7 separate regions of the Homo sapiens genome follow, and all the other regions are linked to region 6. The links are contacts of gene promoters, found by promoter capture Hi-C in blood cells and fetal thymus (Javierre and others, 2016). All regions are on one chromosome and are shown on one strand. The core of a region is centred on a gene start or on the middle of the fragment in contact, and the rest is flanking DNA. Distances in the headings are between cores, read along the strand shown.

Region 1 (3,109 bases), core at 430-2,929, 200 kb before region 6:
CCACTGTGATTCTATGATACCTGCCCCCAATGGTTCCTTTATCTGTGCATGAAGATAATGACATTTGCATCAGATGGTTATTTTAAAGATCAAGTGAGATAATACATGTAAAGCTGTTTAGAAAAATAATTGAGCAACAAAAGCTCAATTAAGGTTAGCTTGTTACTACAATATTTTATAGAGATTACAGAAAAATGAGATATTACTTGACTAGTACATGCTTTCAAAGCAAAAAGTTCTTAAAACATCCTTTCATCTTTCAAATCTGAGGACTTTAATGAACTTAAGAATGAGACAGATATCATGATAAACATTTATAGAAAGCCAATGAGTGGAACAACTTGTATTTATTTATCAAATTCTTAGAGACCCAACTTAGTATCTTTTTCTTTTTTGAGACAGAGTCTCGCTCTGTCGCCCAGGCTGGAGTGCAGTGGCGCGATCTCGGTTCACTGCAAGCTCTGCCTCCAGGGTTCACGCCATTCTCCTGCCTCAGCCTCCCGAGTAGCTGGGACTACAGGTGCCCACCACCACGCTCGGCTAATTTTTTTTTTGTATTTTTAGTAGAGATGGGGCTTCACCATGTTAGCCAGGATGGTCTCGATCTCCTGACCTCGTGATCCACCCACCTCGGCCTCCCAAAGTGCTGGGATTACAGGCGTGACCCACCGCACCCAACCTATTTATTTCTTTATGTATAGAGATGGGGTCTATGTTGCTGAGGCTGGACTCTAACTCCTGAACTTAAGCAATCCTCCCACCTCGGCCTCCCCAAGTGCTGGGATTACAGGTGTGAGCCCATTACCATTACAACTAATAGTTTCTCAGTATGTTCCTAGACCCAGATACCTTTTAATTGCTATTTAAATTACAGTGGTATAAAAATCTTTTCCTGCTTGAAAGTTTGCTTACTTTTGCAGTTAAAACTTACAGTCAGTAGTATTTAAATATACTACATCATATACAATGTAATTTTCAGAAGTGAGCATATCAAGAAAAATGCCTAAAAGCTTACTGGTATGGCCTTACAATTGAAACTTTTCTTCTTTAAACTCGAAATTCTTATGAACTTAAATGTGCCGAATATGAATAATATGTAAAACCCTGTTGGTATTCAAAGAAAAATAAGACGCAGTCTCTTCCTGTACAAAGCTCAGAGTTTACCCAGAAAAACTGTCTAGAAATGTTCACGAATTAATTGATAAACTGAGAGAAATTATGCTTGAAAACACAAAACTGAGCCTAGCGCATGTCAGGCACTCAATAAATAGTTGTTAAAATATTGACATGGAAGGGTCAGGTTCATCTGCTTGAGGAAGAGAGCATATGAGCTGGACTCAATCTTAAAGGATAGAGAGATCTTCAGTGAATTAACATTGGGCAAAGATTATATGAGAGACAGAAAATCACTTAAAGAGGAGGCAAGGCTGCAGGAAGGGGGAAATGAGTTGTCCGATGGGTGTATAGTATCAGTTCTGCAAGACGAAAAAGTTCTGGAGATTGCACAACAGTGTGACTATATTTAACACTATGGAATTGTACACTTAAAATGGTAAAGAGGGTACATTTATGTTATGTGGATTTTACCACAATTAAAAACTTTTTAAAAAGAATAACATAAAGATAAGGAGGCAAATAAGTACAGGGCAAATTAAACAAACTTCAAGGTAATTCAACATTGCTAAAACATGAGAGTTTAGAGGGAGAAAAGGAGTGTCAAGTAGAAAAAAGTAGAAGAAATCTGAAAGGATACTGCTGGAAAGCACAGTCAACGAGGCCATACACAGGCGCTTTGGCTTAGACTGCTCACCCTTTATCTACATATCAAGGAGAAGCCATCAGATTTGTGAGCAGTGAAATGACATGATTATTTTAGAAAACTAACTCTGGGAGAAATATTTGTGATGAGCCAGAAAACAGGGCCACAGACAACAGGACAAAAGGCCAACTAGAAAGCTACTGAAATAGTCCGGGTCTAAAAGCAGCACTGGCTCTGAGAATGAAAAGAAAAGGAAGCATGAAGAGGAGCTGAATCCGAAGAGAACTGGGAGATGTCACTGGATTTTTACAATCAGTAGATCACCAATCACTTTCAGGATAGTACACAAGAGGAAAACAGAGGTTACAGAGTGAATAAGAAAGAATACTGGAAACACGCAGACTATTCCCTCTCAAGAATTTTGGCACTAAAAAGAACAGAGGGGACTGCACAGTAAGAGTAAGCAAAACAAGGGAGAAATGACTGAGGTTTTGTGTTGTAACGCATATTTCGTGTTGTTCTGTTTTTAGGACCAGAAGAAATGGAATGTGAGGGGAAGTGATATATACCACTCCTAGGCCTGGCCCATAAAAGCTTCCCACGTGACCCTCCGTGCTCACTCTTCCCCTGTCGGCCAGCTGAACGTCAACACCCAGGGTGACCCTGGAAACCACTTACTAAAGATCCCAGAGGCTCCATTAGTCTTGGAAAGGGCCATCCTACCATGATTGAATTGACACAGTGATAAATAAACTTCTATTTTGTAGAGCCACTGAGATTAAAAAAGAAACAAAGGTGTTGTGAGTTGAGCATGGGCAGGTGCTAAGGGCATAAAACCCAGTGAAGAGATGAAAAGACAGATGCAGGCATACAGCTCTCACTGTCATCCATGCTTATAACAAAATGGAAGTACCTTCTTCATTACATGTAAAGACATCCCAAAAAAATTTAAGCAGAACAATATTTATACGACCATTAACTGGAGAGCAGTTTCTGAAGTAGTTTCTTCTATCGTACTTCATCCATTTTGATAATTTCTAAAAATCTCTCCTATCTTTAAAAATTATTTTAAATTAGGACATGTGTAGTAGCTCACATCCCAGAACTCTGGCAAGATAAGGCAGGAAGGTCTCTTGAGGCCAGGATTTCGAGACCAGCATGGACAAGACAGCAAGAACCTTGTCTACAAAAAAAAATTTTTTTTAATCAGCCAGACACAGTGGCATGTGTCTATAATCCTAGCTACTCAGAGGCTGAGGCAGGAGAGTTGCTTGAGCCCGGGAGTTCAAGGCTGTAATGAGCAATGATCATGCCACTACACTTCAGCCTGCATGACAGAGCAAGACCCCA
Region 2 (3,208 bases), core at 218-2,717, 160 kb after region 6:
GTGTGTAATTAGAATTTTGACACCACTTGGCATGAAGCAACGGTGGGCCAGAGTTCTGCGTCATTTATCCTTCAGGTGCTCTCTGCAGTGGATGGTTTGTGCCTCCTGAAGCAATTGCTTCCCTGTGCTTTGAGGTCCAGCAGAGGTAACAGCGGAGAAAGCTGGAAGAAAGGCTTCAACAAAAGCATTAATGGTGATGTGAAGAATGCAGGAAACTCCCAAGAAAGCCAAATGATATCACTCTCTGCTTTTCCAACATAGCCAGTGTGAGGCAGGAATCACACACGTTTCACAGCTGGGTAAATATGTGATTTCACGTGAAATCAGAGGGACAGGTGTTTCTCTGTGCTTGTTAGGTGATATGGCGTCCGCCCATTTTGATGGTAAAGGCCAAAGTAAATATAAATTCTGTTTCCTGACCTGGGGCCTTGAGGTCCCCAGGCGGGGATTACCACCACCCAATTTGGGAATCTACGTTGCAAAGCCATGGTTCCCGCTGTTCACATTGTGACGTTTGGAAATGGTATTGGGACTAATGGAGGGAAAGAAAGAGGACAGGAAGGGAGGGCATAGAGATTGGTTGGTAGGAAGATGACCCCCACTAGGTGCTTTAGGGTAGGGGGTTATGGAGGCTGGCTTTGCAGAAACTCTGGGACGCAGCAGTTGGGGAAGGGTGAAGTGAAAATCAGTGATAGCTTAGAGCTCTGCTGACCCTAGAACTTTGGATCCAGTATTTCTTCAGGCATGGATGATGTTGAAGGTATTGTTGGCACTCATTTGATAATCCCTTACTGTACTCAGAAGTTTTGGCTTGGGGTTGCCTTTTTAATTCAAGGTTCAAGATTAAATGACTTGGCTGGGTGTGGTGGCTCATGCCTATAATCCCAGCACTTTGGGAGGCTGAGGCGGGAGGATCACCTGAGGTCAGGAGTTCGAGATCAGCCTGGCCAACCTGGTGAAACCCCGTTTCTACTAAAAAAATAACAAAACTTAGCCAGGCATGGTGGTGTGTGCCTGTAATCCCAGCTACTTGGGAGGCTGAGGCAGGAGAATTCCTTGAACCTGGGGGGCAGAGGTTGCAGTGAGCCAAGATTGCACCATTGCACTCCACCTGGGCGACAGAGAGCGAGACTCCATCTCAAAAAAAAAAAAAAAGTTAAATGACTGGATGGTGCCCCATGTAAGAGTTTGCAAAAGTTCAAACTAGTGAAACTGCTGAGCTTCTTCAGTACATTATGCAACTCTGCCTTGCCTCCAATTTTGCAGCTCTATCAAGTGTACAGCGTGGTGTGTGGGGAAAGATCTGCATCCCATGATGTTTTTGACTATGGAGGTAATTATTTGGAGTAGCTGTTCTGATGATAACTCACGGAGGTTCAGTCTGCAGCATGGAACTGTCTCTAGTCATGATTGCCTGTAATGATGATTACCCAAACTCTGGAATTATAACAATAGATTTTACAAAGTTAGAGCATAATTGCTCCACCATTCCTTACATGTGCACAGATTAAACAACTTTGATCTTTCAATCAGATTTTTGTTACTCATCTTCTGCAATAGCAAAGGTCAGAGGCAGTAGCTTTCTGCCACCTCCCTCCCCTCTTTTTAAATCATCACGAGGCCTAGATTTTTAAAGCATTTAACTTGGTAAAGAAATAAGGGCTGAAGTTGTGTGGACTAGAATGAGTACAGGCCTGTGGGGGGTCAGAATCCCAATTCTGACATCTAGAAACTCTGTAACATACAGTCTTCAACCTGTCTGCAACTCAGCTTCCTCGTCTGTCAATACTCACTTGTCTGAATCATTGAGAGATTAGAATGAACATAGGCGGCCGGGTGTAATGGCTCATGCCTGTAATCCCAGCACTTTGGGAGGCCGAGGCGGATGGATCATGAGGTCAGGAGTTCGAGACCAGCCTGGCCAACATGGCGAAACCCCGTCTCTACTAAAAATACAAAAATTAGCTGGGTGTGGTGGTGGGCGCCTGTAACCTCAGCTACTGAGGAGGCTGAGCAGAGAATTTCTTAAACCCAGGAGGTGGAGGTTGCAGTGAGCTGATATCTCGCCACTGCACTCCAGCCTGGGAGACAGAGCGAGACTCCATCTCAAAAACAAAAAAAAGGAATATAGGCTGGGTGCAGTGGCTCACGCCTGTAATCCCAGCACTTTAGGAGGCCAAAGTGGGAGAATTGCTTAAGGCCAGGAGTTGGAGACTAACATAATGAGACCATGTCTGTACAAAAGTAAAAAAATAAAAATTAACTGGGTGTGGTGGCACACTTCTGTAGTCCCAGCTACTCAAGGGGCTGAGGCAGGAGGATTGCTTGAGCCCAGGAAGTCGAGGCTGAGGTGAGCCATGATCATGCCACTGAACTCTAGCCTGGGTGACAGAGTAAGACCCTGCTGCTTTTAATTTTTTAAATTATTTATTTTATTTACTTAGTTTGTTTTTGTTTTTGTTTTTTTGAGACAAAGGCTCCCTCTGTAGCCCAGGCTGGAGTGCAGTGGCGTGATGTCGGCTCACTGCAACCTCCACTTCCTGGGTTCAAGTGATTCTCCTGTCTCTGCCTCCCGATTAGCTGGGATTACAGGCGTGCACCACCACATCCGGCTAATTTTTGTATTTTTAGTAGAGACGGGGTTTTGCCATGTTGGCCAGGCTGGTCTTGAACCCCTGACCTCAGGTGATCCGCCTGCCTCGGCCTCCCAAAGTGCTGGAATTACAGGCATGAGCCGCTGCGCCCAGCCAGACCCTGTCTCTTTTAAAAGAAAGGCAAAAGAAATATAAAGCACTTAATCAGTGCCTTGCACTAATGGGCAATCAATAAAGTGATGCTGTATCATCATCATCAATTCTACGATCAATTCTCAGGCTTTGGAGGCTTTAGAATCTTTCTATGTCTTTGGATGTTGTGGCCTTTATTCAACATACAAGTTTGTTTGGAGCTGGTGGTCAGGGATATGGTATTTTCACTAAGTTAGGGATGGAGCTTTGTAAGAAATCAGTATAAAGGAGGAAAAAAGAAACAAGCGTCCTAAAGACAGAACATTTACAGCTGAGCAAGTGCTGATGGCTGCCTTCACCACGTTCTGCTGCAGCGGTTCTCAGCATTTATGTGCATTTCTGAAAGATTCCCACTCTTTTCTCCCCAGAGTCTGAATGGAGAAGGTCTGGAACAACCTGAGATTCAGCATTTTTAGGAGTGT
Region 3 (3,145 bases), core at 163-2,662, 210 kb after region 6:
GCCCATAGGTCAAGGTTACAGTGAGCTGTGACTGCACCACTGCACCCCAGCCTGGGTGACAAAGTAAGACTCTGTCTCAAAAATAAAAATAAAAAGAAGGCCGGGCGCCTGTAATCTGTAATCCCAGCACTATGGGAGGCCAAGGTGGGCAGATCTTTTGAGCTCAGGAGTTCGAGACCAGCCTGGCTAACATGGAGAAACCCTATCTCTACTAAAAATACAAAAATTAGCCGGGCTACACGGAAGGCTAAGGCATGAGAATCACTTGAACCTGGGAGGTGGAGGTTGCAGTGAGCCGAGACCACACCACTGCACTCCAGCCTGGGCGACAGAGCAAGACCCTGTCTCAAAACAATAAAAAATAATAAAATTTAAAAATTAAAAATAAAATTTAAAATTTAAAATAAATTTAAAAATTTTTTTTATTTTACTTTAAAAATAAATTTATGTTTTAAAAATTAAAAATAAATTTATGTTTTAAAAATTAAAAATAAAAGCCAGGTCTGTCTGACTTCAATAATCTATGACTTTAAAGTTCTACTATATCCCCTTGCTAATGTTATATGAGCATTTATATAAAGATTAAGGCTGGGTCCCCAGGAATCCAGCAATGGTAGCTGCTCCCCAAAAGTAAGCTCACCAGAACTGGAACTGGCGTGATTTAGGGGTTTGCTTTTCTAAAGCTTATGCTAGGAGTCACAGAACATATTCCTTTTGGAAATGTTCTCTTCAGGGACTTGCCCTCTACTGCTGGTTATTCTCTGTGGCCTGACCTCTGTCTGGATGAAACTGTGTTCATTGTCCTAAAGGCGGCTTTCCTTTGTCTGAATTTGGATATTGACTTAGTATCTTAACATTTCTGTTCCGGGACGGTGCTTGCAACCAAATGGCCAGGAAAGTATTCAGAAGCTCTGCTGAATATAGGAAGAGAGAAAAAATGTTATGCTAATGAAAATTTGCTTTTCTCCCACAGTGTTCCTTTCTGCCGAAATTCTCCATTCATATAGAAACCAAGTATGAGGACAACAAAGGAAGCAATGACACCGTGAGTAGCCCCTCCTTCCATGCTGCGCTCGCCTCGTGGGCTCTGAATATCACAGCACTTCTCACAGCCCCTCTGTGACCAGGGCCAGCAGTGGGACCTGTGCCTGGGACCTCAGAGATGTTCTGGCCTTTGGCTTCTGAGGGTTATTTCCCTGGGACTTTTCCCTGGAATTCTTTTGTTGTCTAGCTTTTCTTTCTTCTCATTTTTATGTACTTTCCCTGGGCCTCTGAGCAGAAGCCTCTGACCTGGGGTGATTGTCATGGAGGTGGAGAGGATGACAGGGCACTTGGAACTCCAAGATTTGGTTTTTGATCATTGGACAGAGTACACATCTTCTCAATGCCTATTAATATCTACTTCGGAAAGGGAATACAATCAAAGATATGTGTACACAGAAAAGGAAATACAGTCAGATGTATGTGTGAACAGAAAAGGAAATACAGGCCTGGTGCAGTGGCTCACGCCTGTAATCCCAGCACTCTGGGAGGCTGAGGCAGGCACATCACCTGAGATCAGGAGTTCAAGACCAGCCTGGCCAACATGGCGAAACCCTGTCTCGACTAAAAATACAAAAATTAGCTGGGCGTGGTGGTGCACACCAGTAATCCCAGCTACTTGGGAGGCTGAGGTAGGAGGATTGCTTGAACCTGGGAGGCAGAGGTTACAGTGAGCCGAGGTTGCACCACTGCACTTCAGCCTGGGCCACAGAGCGAGACTCCATCTCAAAAAAATAAAAAAAGAGAAAAGGAAATAGAATCAGATATGTGTGTGCATACTGCATGCATGCTTACTTACACACATGCGGTGTATGTATACACCCACACATCCTACCTTAAAATCAGGGGGTACCCCCACAAAATATTTACCTCCTGAGGCATTCTGACTTTTACTAAATTTCAGCCAAGTATTTTGCTTATTAGTGTTGGGTAAAACCCATCTTCTGACCTGGCTTTTACCCCCAGGCTCTTTCTGTTTGGGCAGTAAATTTCTAACTTCTCTTTTCTTTGGGGGTGACTGTTTTGACCTACCAAAAGCCTCACCTGGGATTAGGCTGTGGGTTCCCTCAGGACCCGTTGAAAGGAAGAACCTGGATCTAGAAGCTTCGGGGCTTCCCCAGAGTTCATGGAACTTCCCAGAGGAGAGAAAAATACAGCTGGCAGCAGTACTATCCTACCACTCTGTTCAGGAACCCCATCGTTAGTGTCTCCTTGAAGTGGCAGCCCAATGGGAAATGTTTAGGGCCATTTTCCTGTCACAGCCTGAAATCACAGGCGCGTTGCTGGCCAAATTCATCAAAACCACCATGCCTAAAACAGTGTCACACTGTGTTTCAACTTGAATCCTTGTAAAATAGTGATTTTTTTTTTTTTTTTTTTTTTTTTTTTCTGATTAGAAAGCAGCCTGGGCGCGGTAGCTCACGCCTGTAATCCTAGCATGTTGGGAGGCCAAGGTGGGCAGATTGTCTGAGCTCAGGGGTTCAAGACCAGCCTGGGTAACATGGCAAAACCCCATCTCTACTAAAAATACAAAAAATTAGCCGGGCGTGGTGGCGCATGCCTGTAATCCCAGCTACTCAGGAGGCTGAGGCAGGAGAATTACTTGAGCCTGGGAGGCAGAGGTTGCAGTGAGCGCAGATCGCGCCACTGCACTCCAGCCTGGCAACAGAGCGAGACTCTGTCTCAAAAAAAAAAAAAGTTAATACATGGCTATTCAAACTTGGAGAATGCAAAAAGAAAGTATTGAAAAAAGAAAGGAAAAACCAATAGCAATCCCACAATTTAGAGATGACTTCTGTTAGCAATTTGGTTCATGTTGCAGATTATGGACAAATTTATTTTTTAACCAATTCCTCCTGAATTGAATCATATAGTATGTTATTTTTAACATGCCCTGAAGTATGCTTCCCTATAATGATTTTTCCTGGCTGTACCACCTTCCATATTTCAGTGTACTTCTTTAAACAATTGCTGGTCACTGGATATTGAAGTAAGCTTGACTCTTTTCACGTAGCTGTGGACTCTCATGAAAAGGATAATAAAGTTCAGTTGCTTGAATTGCTTTTCCTGGCATAATATGAAAATATGGGGGAATTTTTTTTTT
Region 4 (3,330 bases), core at 506-3,005, 130 kb after region 6:
TGTGAATAATGCTGCAATGAACTTGGGTGTGCAAATATCTCTTTGAGGTCTTGTTTTCAACTCTTTTGGGTATATAACCAGTAGTGGTATTGCTGGATCATGTGGTAGTTCCAGTTTTAATTTTGTTAGGAAGCTTCGTATTGTTCTCCATAGCGGCTGTGCTACTTGACAAGCTCATCAATGGTGTGCAATGATTCCAGTTTCTCTACGTCCTTGCCAACACTTGTTATTTTCTGTTATTTTGATAGTGGCCTTCCTAACGAGTGTGAGGTGATATCCCATTGTGGTTTTGATTTGCATTTCCTTGATGATTAGTGGTGTTGAATATCATTTCATATACTCATGTACTCACTAGTCACTTGTGTATCTTCTTTGTTTTTTTTTTTGTTTGTTTTTGTTTTTTTTTTTGAGATGGAGTCTTGCTCTGCTGCCCAGGCTGGAATGCAGTAGCACGATCACGGCTTATTGCAACCTCTGCCTCCCAGGTTCAAGCGATTCTGTTGCCTCAGCCTCCAGAGTAGCTGGGCTTACAGGCACCCGCCACCATGCCTGGCTAATTTTTTTGTATTTTTAACAGAGACAGAGTTTCACCATGTTAGCCAGGCTGGTCTCGAACTCCTGACCTCCAGTGATCTGCCTGCCTCAGCCTCTCAAAGTGCTGGGATTATGGGCATGAGCCACGTGCCCAGCCCGTATATCTTCTTTGAAGAAATATCTATTCAAGTCCTTTGCCCGTTTTTATTTATTTTGAGAAGCAGAGTCTCGCTCTGTTGCCCATGTTGGAGTGCAATGGTGTGATCTCAGCTCACTGCAACCTTCACCTCCTGGGCTCAAGTGATCCTGCCACCTTAGCCTCCTGAGTAGGTGGGACTACAGGCAAGTGCCACCATGCCCGTGTAATTTTTTTATTTTTTTGTAGAGACAGGGGTCTCACCATGTTGCCCAGGCTGGTCTTGAACTCCTGGGCTCAAGCAATCCACCCTCCTTGGCCTCCCAAAGTGCTGGGATTATAGGCATGAGCCACTGTGCCCGGCCAGCCTGAGGAATCTTAGGAAACAAAGTAAAGACCTTGGCCTGAATAGCTGGTCTGCTACCTCCCTACTTCCTACTGCCCAGAGGCAATTACAGTCATGCACCATATAACAATATTTCAGTCAAGGAAAGATCGCATATATGATGGTGGTCTTATGAGATTATAATGCTGTATTTTTACTGTACCTTTTCTGTGTTTAGATACACATACACTTATAGTTATGTTACAGTTGCCTACAGCATTCAGTACAATAGCATGCTTTTCAGGTTTGTAGTGTAGAAGCAACATAGGTGCGTAGTAGGCTACACCATCTAGGTTTGTGTAAGAACATTCTATGATGTTTGCACGACAGAATCATTTCACACATTTCTCAGAACATATCCCCATCGTTAAGCAATGCATGACTGTACATCTGTTCTTAGTTCTTCCATTGGTGAGCCTCCATCGTTTTAAATAAATGCATATACTGTATGCTCTTTCTCAATGTATCAGTTTTAGAATTATCCATCTTCTCCCCTTGAATATATAAGTAGGCTGCAGAGGATTTAGTTTGCTTGTACTGCTTCTCAGCTTATCTTCTTCTGATGGTTAATCATTTTAAACAATTAGTTTTAGTTCTCTTAGCTACCTCTAGTTATTGCATTTCTGTCTCTGTTTCTTGTTTTGTCAGTTTTCGGCAATATTCTCTTTCCTTTCTAAATAAAACATTAAGGCCTTACCCTTTCATTTTTCTCCCTTTTACGTTGTCCAAATTCTGGATAAATGAATATGGTATATCCATAAATGGGCTATTATCTGGTAATAAAAAGGTATGAAATTCTGATATATGCTACAACATGGATGGACCATGAAAACATCATACCCAAGTGAAAGAAGCCAGACACAACGAGCCACATATTACATGATTCCATTTATATGAAATATCCAGGATAGGCACAGAAAGTTGATGAGTCATTGCCAGGGGCCTCGAGGAATACCATTAACTGCTTATGGGCACCAGGTTTCTTTTTAGGATAAGGAAAATGTTCTGAAATTAGATAGTGGTAATGGTTGTAACAACCTCATGAATATACTAAAACCCACTGTATTCTACACTTTAAAAGGACAAATTTTATGGTTTGAATTATATCTCAATTTTTTTTTAAGATTTTTTTTTTTTTTTAATTGAGAGAAGGTCTCACTCTGTCAGCCAGGCTGGAGTACAGTGGCACAATCACGGATCATGGCCCATGGCTCACGGCTCACTGAAGCCTCAAACTCCTGGGCTCAAGTGATCCTCCCACCTCAGCCTCCCGAGTAGCTGGGACCGCAGGCGCGCACACCACCACACTTGACAAAATTTTTTTTTTTTTTAAGTGGAGACAGGGGTCTCTCTATATTGCCCAGGCTGGTCTCAAACTCCTGGGCTCAAGCAGTCCTCCCATCTCTGCCTCCCAAAGTGCTGGAATTAAAGACGTGAGCCACTGCACCTGGCCAAAAGAAAGATTCTTAACTGTTACATTCCATTTATTCCATTTTCTAATCTTAATATCTTTAGCTTATTTCTGAATGTTGGACACCAGTAAACAACATTTATTGTCGCTGTGTAAACATTGCCCACTGCAGGTCTAGGTGCTAATGTCATATTATTACTTTCTCTATAGGACCAATGCCACAATCCACAGGCCACCTAGAGGATAGCATTTCATGCATCGCAGTTCGAGTGAATTCTCTTTTCTTATTTACCATCGACTATTCCTTTTGTGTTATCCTGGAATTCCTTCTTGCTTTCTTTTTCATATAGACCCCAAAAATACACTTTCATCACCTAGTGCTGTAGATGCACTCCGGGTTATATGACATCTCCTTACTTCTCAGCCATCGTCATCTGGCTCCAATCTACCAGCCTGTCCTGTCTCCTTCGCTGCCTTGTCTCAACATTTTATTAAATTTATTTCTTCCTCTTTTTTGTTCCATTCCCTTATTTTGCAACCTTTTGGATGTTACCCTTTGGAAGTTACCCTCTTGTAACTTCCACATTAAAAGTTTGGGGGCTGGCTGGGTGCGGTGGCTCACGCCTGTAATTCCAGCAATTTGAGAGGCCAAGGCGGGCAGATTGCCTGAGGTCAGGAGTTCAAGACCAGCCTGGCCAACATGGTGAAATCCTGTCTCTACTAAAAATACAAAAATGAGCCGGGATGTGGTGGTGGGAGCCTGTAATCCCAGCTACTTGGGAGGCTGAAGCAGGAGAATTGCTCGAACGTGGGAGGTGGAGGTTGCAGTGAGCCAAGACTGTGCCATTGCACTCCAGCCTGGGC
Region 5 (3,274 bases), core at 643-3,142, 240 kb after region 6:
TCCTCCCACCTCAGCCTCCCGAGCAGCTGGGACTACAGGCATGCACCGTCACACCTGTCTAGTTTTTCTAGTTTTTTTTTTTTTTTTTTGTAGAAATGAAGTCTTGCTATGTTGCCCAGGCTGGTCTCAAACTCCTGGGCTCAAGTGATGTGCCTTTCTCAGCCTCCCAAAGCGTTGGGAGGCATGAACCATCACGCCCGGCCTGTTTCTCAGCTTTTCTTTGTCTCTCGTGACACTGACATTTTGCAGAACACTGGCTGGTTTTGTGCATGTCCTTGTTGCTGGGTTTTCCCCATTGTGTTCTCATGATTAGATTCAGACTGTGCATCTTTGGCAGGAATTCTGTATTAGCAATACTGAGTCATTGTGGACTTTCAGAATATCCTTTCCCCAACATGCATGGCTTCCCTGTGATTTTATTTATTTATTTATTTATTTTTATTTTTTGTAGAGACAGGGTCTTCCTATGTTGCCCAGGCTGGTCTCGAACTCTTGGGCTCAAACTATCCTCCTGCCTCAGCCTCCCGAAGTGCTGGGAACACAGGCATGAGCCACTGTGCACAGCCTTCCCTGTATTTTATTTTCTGGCCTTTGAGAAGACTTTAGCCTCCCCTGGTTTCCCAAGCTGTGTTCATCACAGAGCTGGTGTCGGAGGCCTGGTGGGAGAGTTGGTCATGTTCTTCTTCTTCTTCCTTTTTTTTTTTTTTTTTTTGAGACAGAGTCTCACTCTTGTTGCCCAGGCCGGGTGCAATGGCGCAATCTCGGCTTACTGCAACCTCTGCCTCCCGGGTTCAAGTGATTCTCCTGCCTCAGCCTCCCAAGTAGCTGGGATTACAGGCATGCGCCACCATGCCCGGCTAACTTTTGTATTCTTAATAGAGACGGGATTTCACCATGTTGGCCAGGCTGGTCTCGAACTCATGACCTCAGGTAATCCGCCCACCTCAGACTCCCAAAGTCCTGGGTTTATAGGCGTGAACCACCGCACCCAGCCAGTCATGTTCTTCTAAGCACTGGAGAAAAAAGGACAGCTGCCTGTGCTGAAAAGTCACCCCAAGAGAGAGCAGGAAGAATCCCAAAGCAGAGGCGACAGTGGACTCTTTCTATCCTGTGCTCTGAGTCCGGCAAACTGTTGATGAAGCCCTCACGGGGTCATTCACAGCAGAATTGGATCTGGTTAGATCCAATTCCAAAAAAAAAAAAAGCCACATCCCTTGGATCCAGGTTTGCTTTTTGTACCCAAGCTTGGGCATTCCATTTGGATGGTTTTACCTCTTAAATATTACATCCATCCTACTTCTCCATTCCGGCTACCATGGCCCTAGTTAAGGTGTTTATTTCTTTTCTAGAGCAATCTCACACTAAACCCATATCTCCCACAGAGCTATCTGCCCAGGGAATCCACGTAGACTTCAAATCTGATCATTTTCACAGTGACTGGCACCCAAGACCTTCTGTCGCCCGGCCACTACTTTCCTCTGTCGTTCCGCTATTCCATGCTCCCTGCCTCAAACATAATATGCCCAAAATATCAGGTCAGGATACGAGAGTGTTAAGTGCCAGCATTACCTGGGAGCTTGTTAGGATCTCAGGCCCCACCCTAGACCCACTGAATCGGAACCTGAATCTAAGCAAGCAAGATTTCCCAGGTGTTGTGTGCGCATGAAAGCACCGGAGGCACTATCTAGAACCTGCTGGAAGGGCCTGTTCTGTGCAAGGAACTTAAGCTGCCCCTCAGGCTCTGTGGTCCTTGGCACTGAGGCAAGATTCTCAAAATAATCTCTGATTCAAGGGATTCCGCTCCGAAAATTACATTGGAAATTGTTTTTCCTAATTTGCATAAATAAATAAACTTAGTAAATGGGCTTCATCTGATTTTTACTTTTTTCTCTTACAAATTCTTTTCTAAACTTTGGGCCAGGCGTGGTGCCGGCACACATCAGCATTTTGGGAGGCTGAAGCCAGCAGATCACCTTGAGGTCAGGAGTTAAAGACCAGCCTGGTCAACATGGCAAGACCCTGTCTCTACTAAAAATACAAACATTAGCCGGGCGTGGTGGCTCACGCCTGTAATCACAGCACTTTGGGAGGCCGAGGTGGGCAGATCACAAGGTCAAGAGATTGAGACCATCCTGGCCAACATGGTGAAACCCTATCTCTACCAAAAATACAAAAATTAGCTGGGCACTGGGGCATGCGCCTGTAGTCCCAGCTACTCGGGAGGCTGAGGCAGGAGAATCGTTTGAACCCGAGGGGCGGAGGTTGCAGTGAGCCGAGATTGCGCCACTGCACTCCAGCCTGGCGACAGGGTGAGACTCTGTCTCAAAAAAAAAAAAAAAAGAAAAAGAAAAGAAAAAAATATTATTTTCTAAACTTTGACATCTGCTGCTACTTGTTGGCTAACAAGATGTCATCTGCTGGCAAACAAAATGAGTAAACTACTAGGAAATAAATGGTAATGTTAAAATTCAACATACCTGGTGTTCAGTCTAACAGTTCAGTTCAACAACAGCAAAAAATAAAAATTAAAACTTTGAGTGTTAAGCTTCTATTAATGTATGAGATACTAGAAGAAGGTCTGAGGGATGCATAGATGAATGAGATATATTGTATAGCTTATTCCCCATGACTGTAAGGCCACATGTGCCTGTAGTACTGGGGCACTGAATGGTACTTCAGCAATGACCATCCTTTTATTAGAATCCTTGGGATGCTACTAGTCTGGATTTGCAGAATTCACCAAAATGAATGACTTTTGCTATTACCTGTCAAGTTGATTTCATCTTCTGTGTCCAGACAGCTATCCAAACCAATATAACCAGGAAATTTACTCTGGATTCCTCAGATCAATAGATGAATGGTTTTGTTGTTGTTTTGTTGTTGTTTGAGACGGAGTTTTGTTCTTGTTGCCCTGGTTGCCCAGGCTGGAGTGCAGTGGCGTGACCTCAGCTCACCGCAACCTCCGCCTCCTGGGTTCAAGCAATTCTCCTGCCTCAGCCTCCCGAGTAGCTGGGATTACAGGCATGTGCCACCACCACACCCAGCTAATTTTGTATTTTTAGTAGAGACGGGGTTTCTCCATGTTGATCAGGCTGGTCTTGAACCCCCGACCTCAGGTGTTCCACCCACCTCAGCCTTCCAAAGTGCTGGGATTACAGGCATGAGCCACCCGGCCAATGAATGGTTTTTAAAACAAAAATCACAATGAGCCTGTTGCCTTTTATTGGCTTTGGTTTTAGGAGGAGAAACTTTAAAAGCTTGGAGTTGAAGGATA
Region 6 (3,313 bases), core at 813-3,312:
TGACTAGGTCTTGCAAACAGTAGACTGGTATTAACAGAAATTCATAAAAGGAAGATTTGGTTGTCCTTCTCTAGAGCAAATTACTTGTTTCTTCCTTATGGACACTATCATTCTATTAATTCCAAAGTGGAGGTTCAGGGGCTGACCTTGGCCTGTATGTTTTGTTCTAGCTACATTGTATTGGCTCAAATAGTATTTTAATATGACAGATTAGTATCCAATTTCTAAATATTAAGGTATTTAATGAGAAATTCATCTTCCTGGTTTCTCCCTCAAATTAGCAGCATCGACAATACTCGGCCTTCATCCCCAATTGGCAAAGATTATCTGAAGGTGAAGATCTGCCGTCTCCTTTTCCTGGGCAGGTGCTCGAAAGTTCAGGTTTTTGGCCAGCCGCGGTGGCTCACGCCTGTAATCCCAGCACTTTGGCAGGCAGAGGTGGGTGGATCACTTTAGGTCAGGAGGTCGCGTGCGACCAGCCTGGCCAACGTAGTGAAACCCCGTCTCTACTAAAAGTACAAAAATTAGCCGGGCGTGGTGGCACCTGTAGTCCTAGCTACTCGGGAGGCGGAGGCAGGAGAATCGTTTGAACCCGGGAGGCGGGGGTTGCAGTCAGCCAAGATTGCGCCACTGCACTCCATCCTGGGTGAAAAAAGTGAAACTCCGTCTCAAAAAAAAAAAAAAAAAAAGTTCAGGTTTTCACTACAATAGGCTTCTAGGCAGGACAGCATGGTGTGTGAGGGCACCAGCTCCAGAATCTAGAATCGGTCTGCCTGGGTTTGCTTCTTGGCTTCACCACTTTACTAGCTGTATGATCTTGGGGCATGTGATTCAACTTTTTCTAGCCCAAGTTTTCTTACCTGTAAAATAAGGATAATAGTAATAGCCATCGCATAGGGCTGAGGTGAGGATCAAATGGCTTAGTGCATGTAAGCACGGTGCCTGACACTGCAGAAACTACTCAACAAATATCAGTTATTGTTATCTGTCTGGCATTGGAGGCGGCTGAGTTTTCCCACCCTTATGTAACTGATGTTTGTTGATGCTAGCTGCTAGAAAGCTCTTAATGAATTTGTGGCTCCCCCTCAGCAAGCATACTGAACCTAAGATATACATACGTACCAACTTTATCACCTTTCTCCATCCTTGTTTCTTGGAAAGCCCGTTAAACTCTTATAGTGCCTACTTGTCTTTACTTCTGTAGTTCCGTCTTCAGTAATGACTCCACCCCACCTCAATCTTACTAATTCCTCAAGACCCAATACAAACGTCAGCCTTCCTGTAAAACCTTCCCTTATGGCACCATTAAGAATGCATAGCTTCCTTCTCGGTGTTCCAGTAACACTTTCCCCTTGTATGGCCCTCACCACCATGCATGACTTGACTAATTCATCACGTACATCAACTCCTAAAGGACAGGGTCCTGTGTTAGTCATCTTCGTACTATCACTTTCCTGCCCCTTCTCCTGGCCAAAGACCAGGCACATAGCCATGATCCACAAACGATGTAACGACATAAATTGATTGAGCAACAGCAACAGAACGAAACTCTCTGATCTAGCCTTAATACTGAAGCGGCCTTAACCCCTGGGAAACTACTAAGGTAAATATCACTTAAACAGCATCCAAGAAACGGCAAAAAGTTAAACGGAGCCCTAAGTCCCACGGAGGGAAGTGACCATCTGTTTTGGGGAGGGTCTGGGAAGCTATAGGCGCTGGCGTACTCCGCAGCCCTGGCCGGGCCGACCTGGGGTCTCCCACTCGTGCAGGCCCAACTAGGGCTGGACAGGCATTGGGGGGTGCACGCTCCAGCCCGCAGGCCCCCTGAGGCCTAAGCAGGCTCCGCGCCGTGACTCAGCCCCTGGCGCCCGCCAACAGCCAGCCGGCCTCTCCTCACCTTGGCTAGCTTCGCACACTCGGGTAGGCGCTGATCCACCGTGGCGCTGTAGTCCACCTCCATCTTGACGATGCGCCCGTCAGCCCGCTCCGAGCCGCCGTCCGCCATGGTCCCCGCCTGAGCGTCCCTTGCTGTCCCCCTGCTTCGGCCACCACTCGTCACCCACACCGGAAGTTGCCCGCGCACCCGCTCAGGCAGCCCATCGGGAGCCCACGCAAAGGACCCCTCGAGGTCCCCGGCGCTGGTTGCCACTCAGGCACTGCCGCGGACAGCCTGGGGGTGGGGCTTGAGGCGCGCGGGGCGGGACTCGCCACTCCAGCCTGCAGCGTCAGGTTTTGTCTCTGGGAACATCAGACTTTTTACCTAAAATTTGCGATGAGAAAAGCGAGTGTAATAGAACAGACCATCTCATATATCCCTACACCCCTGCTTCGAAATATGATTTCTCAGGACCGTGGCCAGTCGCTTTTCTTGGATCTCGGTTTTCTCATCTCTACATCAGGAGGCTAAAATAAACCTTAAAATAGAAAATTCTAAGGTTTTATCTACTTGAGAATCTTGGTGGCTTACTCTGTGGGATCTCTGAAAGCTCCTAAGAGAAGATATGGCAGCAGCTCAGTCATTTAATAAGCAAAGTGGTTTTTCTCTTTGTTTTCATTTTCACTGTAATCCACTAAGTTGGTAAAAAGAAAAGTTAAAAAGACATATTTGTTATCCCTATAGGATTTTCGTGAGCATCAAACTAGATGACATGTGAGACAATTTCAATTCTTAAGGGCCTTACACGTTTTATGTGTTATCATTCATACCATGCTGGTCCCTAGAAAATAGCTTGAGATCTTAAAAAAGCTTAGGATCCTTGAAAATGGGAATGAGGCCGGGCGCGGTGGCTCACGCCTGTAATCCCAGCCCTTTGGGAGGCTGAGGCGGGCGGATCATGAGGTCAGGAGATCGAGACCATCGTGGCTAACACGGTGAAACCCCGTCTCTACTAAAAATACAAAAAATTAGCCGGGCGTGGTGGCGGGCACCTGTAGTCCCAACTACTCGGGAGGCTGAGGCAGGAGAATGGCGTGAACCCAGGAGGCGAAGCTTGCAGTGAGCCGGCGAGATTGCGCCACTGCACTCCAGCCTGGGCGACAGAGCAAGACTCCGTCTCAAAAAAAAAAAAAAAAAAGAAAAAGAAAAGTAAAGAAAATGGGAATGAGGTTGTGTTTGGTGTGGGCATATGGTCAACAGCAGCCTGGAAAGCAAACAGGAAAACGGGAAATCTTGGAGTGGTTTATCTATTATGTTAGTGGTTCTCAATTTAATTAGTGCCGACATCGCTTTATAGATGCTGAATAGATCTCTTTGTTTGTTTTAACTGCAATGAAAATCAGGGAAAATATAAACCATCTACAAGCAAAATAAGAC
Region 7 (3,140 bases), core at 370-2,869, 160 kb before region 6:
TCTCTCTGTATTTGACAGGGTTTTATTCAATTATTTTTAGTTTGGACGAATCTATTGTTTCAATCCATCCATATTACAGATCACTCATCTATTCAACAGTCACTAGATAATTCTGTTATCTAGTGAAACTCCAATAAGGAGTTATCAAGTGAAAAACTCCAATAAGGTATCATTAAGAATGTCTTGAGTGTCTTATAAAGTTCCAAGGTAAGTATTCATCTCCCTCAGATCTTACTATTCCTAAAACTCTTCAAATCTGACCTTGGGCAAGTTACTTATCTCTCTGACCCTCAGTGTGGCCATCTGTAAAACAGAAACACGTATAAATTTGCCATTAAAGATTAAATGAAACAATACAAGTAAAATGCTCTCGCCAGGCATGGTGGCTCATGCCTGTAATCCCAGCATTTTGGGAGGCCGAGGCGGGCAGATCACCTGAGGTCAGGAGTTCAAGACAAGCCTGGCCAACATGGTGAAACCCCGTCTCTACTAAAAATACAAAAATTAGCGGGCATGGTGGCAGGCACCTGTAATCCCAGCTACTCGGGAGGCTGAGGCAGGAGAACCGCTTGAACCCAGGAGACAAAGGTTGCAGTGAGCCAAGATCGTACCACTGCACTCCAGCCTGGGGGACAAGAGCGAAACTGTCTCAAAAAAAAAAAAAAATTGCTCTGAAGAAAAATGACACTCCTACTAAGGTATGGATTAGTTACATCGCTAAGCCTATTTCCTCCCCTATCAAACGGAGGTGACAGTAGCTACTTCATAAGGTTGTGGTAAAGATTAATTATGCTAATTAGAAAAGTAACTAGCAGTCTCCTGCATAAGTAAGAATTCCCTACATATTACCTTCCCCTTCTAAAAATTTTACAGCAGTACTGAGCACTGCTGAGGAAATATCTTAGTTCATTTTTAGTAACTGGGATATTAAGAAACTAGTTGTCAAGAGCTGAAAAATGTTTGCAGGAATGAAAAAGTCTAAGAGTATTTCAACTTCATATGATGATGTCATACTTAAAGAGTATTAAATCACATAACATTTTACAAACAGGTTTCATAGATCTTTGGTTTTGTATGAGGTATTTGCTGAATTTCATTTTGCAAGTTTCTTCCACTACATTGCTGTATGAATATCTTAATATTTGTCAAATTTATGTTTCCCTTTTTTCCATCTCTTTTTCAGACAAGAAGCAGTACTGACATACTTTCTTCCTGTTCCCCTTAAATGAAATTCAATTTATGTATGGGAGGATCCCATATAAAAAACTATGGCATAGAAATAGTCAATAACTATAGATAAAAACCTCTCCTGCTACTGTATCGTATAACAAAATTAAATTGCAATGCTGCCAATCTAGTTCCTTATTACCTTGAAAAAGCTTGGGGGAAAAAAAGTATGGCCTACTGTATTATTAAACTTGTCTCGGCTATAAAAACTGAACTTGCCAAAAGACATGACATTAATAATACAATCTTGAACAATTATAAAAAAGTTACAGCTCCTTGCAGATAAATTCTCTTCCCATCAACTATGTGTGAGAGTGTACTGTGCGCACACAACTGTTCTCAAACTGAATTGTTCCTTTCTGTTCACTAGGAGTTACAAAGGAGGACTTCTGTCAGCTCGCTGTGTATCTTTTTTGTGATATTTTCTAACACTTGAAATATGTCTTACTTAGAATGTTTTGGATTAGAAACTGAGTAGACTTAAAGGAGTAATATTCATTCAACTGTTTTAGCAAAATACATCTTTGCTGGGGTTCCATAGCCTCTGGCTATCACAAGGCAAGGATTAACAATTAAAATGCAATTCCCTTTGCTTGTAAAGAATTACCTAATATAAGGAAAGTAATCTTAAAACAAGCTTATAGTAAATGTTGAGTACATATTCTCTACTGTTTTCAGTAATATGACCATATTAGGACTTTTTTTTTTTTTTTTTAAGACGGAGTTTCACTCTTGTTGCCCAGGCTGGAGTGGAATGGCGCGATCTTGGCTCACCACAACCTCTGCCGCCCAGGTTCAGGCAATTCTCCTGCCTCCAGCCTCCCGAGTAGCTGGGATTACAGGCATGCGCCACCATACTCGGCTAATTTTGTATTTTTAGTAGAGACGGGCTTTCTCCATGTTGGTCAGGCTGGTCTTGAACTCCCGACCTCAGGTGATCCACCCGCCTCAGCCTCCCAAAGAGCTGGGATTACAGGCGTGAGCCACTATGCCGGGTTTTTTTGTTTTTTGTTTTTTTGGGTTTTTTTTGAGACAGAGTTTCGCTCTTGTTGCCCAGGCTGGAGTGCAGTGGTATGATATCAGCGGACTGCAACCTCTGCCTCCCAGGTTCAAGCGACTATCCTACCTCAGCCTCCCAAGTAGCTGGGATTACAGGCATGCGCCACCACCCATGGTTAATTTTGTATTTTTAGTAGAGACGGCGGTTCTCCATGTTGGTCAGGTTGGTCTCGAACTCCTGACCTCAAGTGATCCGCCCGCCTCTGCCTCCCAAAGTGCTGGGATTACAGGCATGAGCCACCACGCCCGGCCTTTTTTTTTTTTTTTTTTTTTTTTTTTGAGATGGAGTCTCGCTTTGTTGCCCAGGCTGGAGTGCAGTGGCATGATTAGGCTCACTGCAACCACCGCCTCCTCAGTTCAAGCGACTCTCCTGCCTCAGCCTCACCAGTAGCTGGTATTACATGCACGTGCTACCACACCTGGCTGATTTTTGCATTTTTAGTAGAGACAGGTCTTCACCATGTTGGCTAGGCTGGTCTCGAACTCCTGACCTCAGGTGATCCACTCACCTCAGTCTCCCCAAGAGCTGGGATTACAGGTGTGAGCCACTACACCCAGCCTAGGTTATTTCTTTTATCAAATCCTTAGTTACTTCTGAAGTGTTTTATTAAAGAGCTTAGCCTAATGAAGGTATTTTTTCCAAAAACTTTCCTAAAAATTTTTTTCATTACCATACAAACTAAATCCTTTAGTCAGTAATGATATAAAATCACTCACTGCTTAGATATAATCATGCTCTCAGAACTAACAATTCAGAAACTGAATTTAAAATGAAAATAAAGGCCGAGCCTATAATCCCAGCACTTTGGGAGCCTGAGGCAGGTGGATCACCTGAGTCCAGGAGTTCGAGACCA

Evidence for each region. The method cuts DNA at HindIII sites, captures the fragments that hold promoters and counts their contacts. A CHiCAGO score of 5 or more calls a contact.
Region 1: a contact is called between a fragment that was not itself captured here and the fragment with the promoter of PSMD12 in region 6, in 2 of 17 cell types (monocytes and M2 macrophages). The highest score is 7.7, in monocytes.
Region 2: a fragment that was not itself captured here is called in contact with the fragment with the promoter of PSMD12 in region 6 in 3 of 17 cell types (total CD8 T cells, naive CD8 T cells and naive CD4 T cells); the score reaches 7.9 in total CD8 T cells.
Region 3: a contact is called between a fragment that was not itself captured here and the fragment with the promoter of PSMD12 in region 6, in 9 of 17 cell types (total CD8 T cells, naive CD4 T cells, activated CD4 T cells and 6 more). The highest score is 13.3, in total CD8 T cells.
Region 4: a contact is called between a fragment that was not itself captured here and the fragment with the promoter of PSMD12 in region 6, in 3 of 17 cell types (total CD8 T cells, M2 macrophages and naive CD8 T cells). The highest score is 8.0, in total CD8 T cells.
Region 5: a fragment that was not itself captured here is called in contact with the fragment with the promoter of PSMD12 in region 6 in 11 of 17 cell types (naive CD4 T cells, total CD8 T cells, naive CD8 T cells and 8 more); the score reaches 25.1 in naive CD4 T cells.
Region 7: a contact is called between a fragment that was not itself captured here and the fragment with the promoter of PSMD12 in region 6, in 1 of 17 cell types (M2 macrophages). The highest score is 6.1, in M2 macrophages.

Annotation. Positions count from the first base shown.
Region 1 is chr17:67,163,022-67,166,130 of GRCh38, forward strand. The region is part of intron 15 of HELZ (helicase with zinc finger); the gene reads right to left. Among named protein-coding and RNA genes, the nearest start is that of HELZ-AS1, 80 kb to the right of the region's middle. The HindIII fragment of the contact is 1,343 bases long and covers 1,009-2,351 here.
Region 2 is chr17:67,525,593-67,528,800 of GRCh38, forward strand. All of the region lies in intron 1 of PITPNC1 (phosphatidylinositol transfer protein cytoplasmic 1), which reads left to right. Among named protein-coding and RNA genes, the nearest start is that of MIR548D2, 56 kb to the left of the region's middle. The HindIII fragment of the contact is 7,724 bases long and covers 1-3,208 here.
Region 3 is chr17:67,577,213-67,580,357 of GRCh38, forward strand. It overlaps PITPNC1 (phosphatidylinositol transfer protein cytoplasmic 1), which reads left to right. Exons shown (of 9, transcript NM_012417.4): 5 at 974-1,045. Among named protein-coding and RNA genes, the nearest start is that of MIR548D2, 110 kb to the left of the region's middle. The HindIII fragment of the contact is 1,462 bases long and covers 682-2,143 here.
Region 4 is chr17:67,498,482-67,501,811 of GRCh38, forward strand. The region is part of intron 1 of PITPNC1 (phosphatidylinositol transfer protein cytoplasmic 1); the gene reads left to right. Among named protein-coding and RNA genes, the nearest start is that of MIR548D2, 29 kb to the left of the region's middle. The HindIII fragment of the contact is 3,249 bases long and covers 132-3,330 here.
Region 5 is chr17:67,608,596-67,611,869 of GRCh38, forward strand. The region is part of intron 5 of PITPNC1 (phosphatidylinositol transfer protein cytoplasmic 1); the gene reads left to right. Among named protein-coding and RNA genes, the nearest start is that of NOL11, 110 kb to the right of the region's middle. The HindIII fragment of the contact is 1,301 bases long and covers 1,243-2,543 here.
Region 6 is chr17:67,364,515-67,367,827 of GRCh38, forward strand. PSMD12 (proteasome 26S subunit, non-ATPase 12) reads right to left here and starts at 2,063. Exons shown (of 11, transcript NM_002816.5): 1 at 1,898-2,063. The coding sequence starts at 2,005. RefSeq lists enhancers at 1,879-1,938, 1,959-2,268. The HindIII fragment of the contact is 3,672 bases long and covers 1-2,744 here.
Region 7 is chr17:67,204,674-67,207,813 of GRCh38, forward strand. All of the region lies in intron 5 of HELZ (helicase with zinc finger), which reads right to left. Among named protein-coding and RNA genes, the nearest start is that of HELZ-AS1, 39 kb to the right of the region's middle. The HindIII fragment of the contact is 485 bases long and covers 1,378-1,862 here.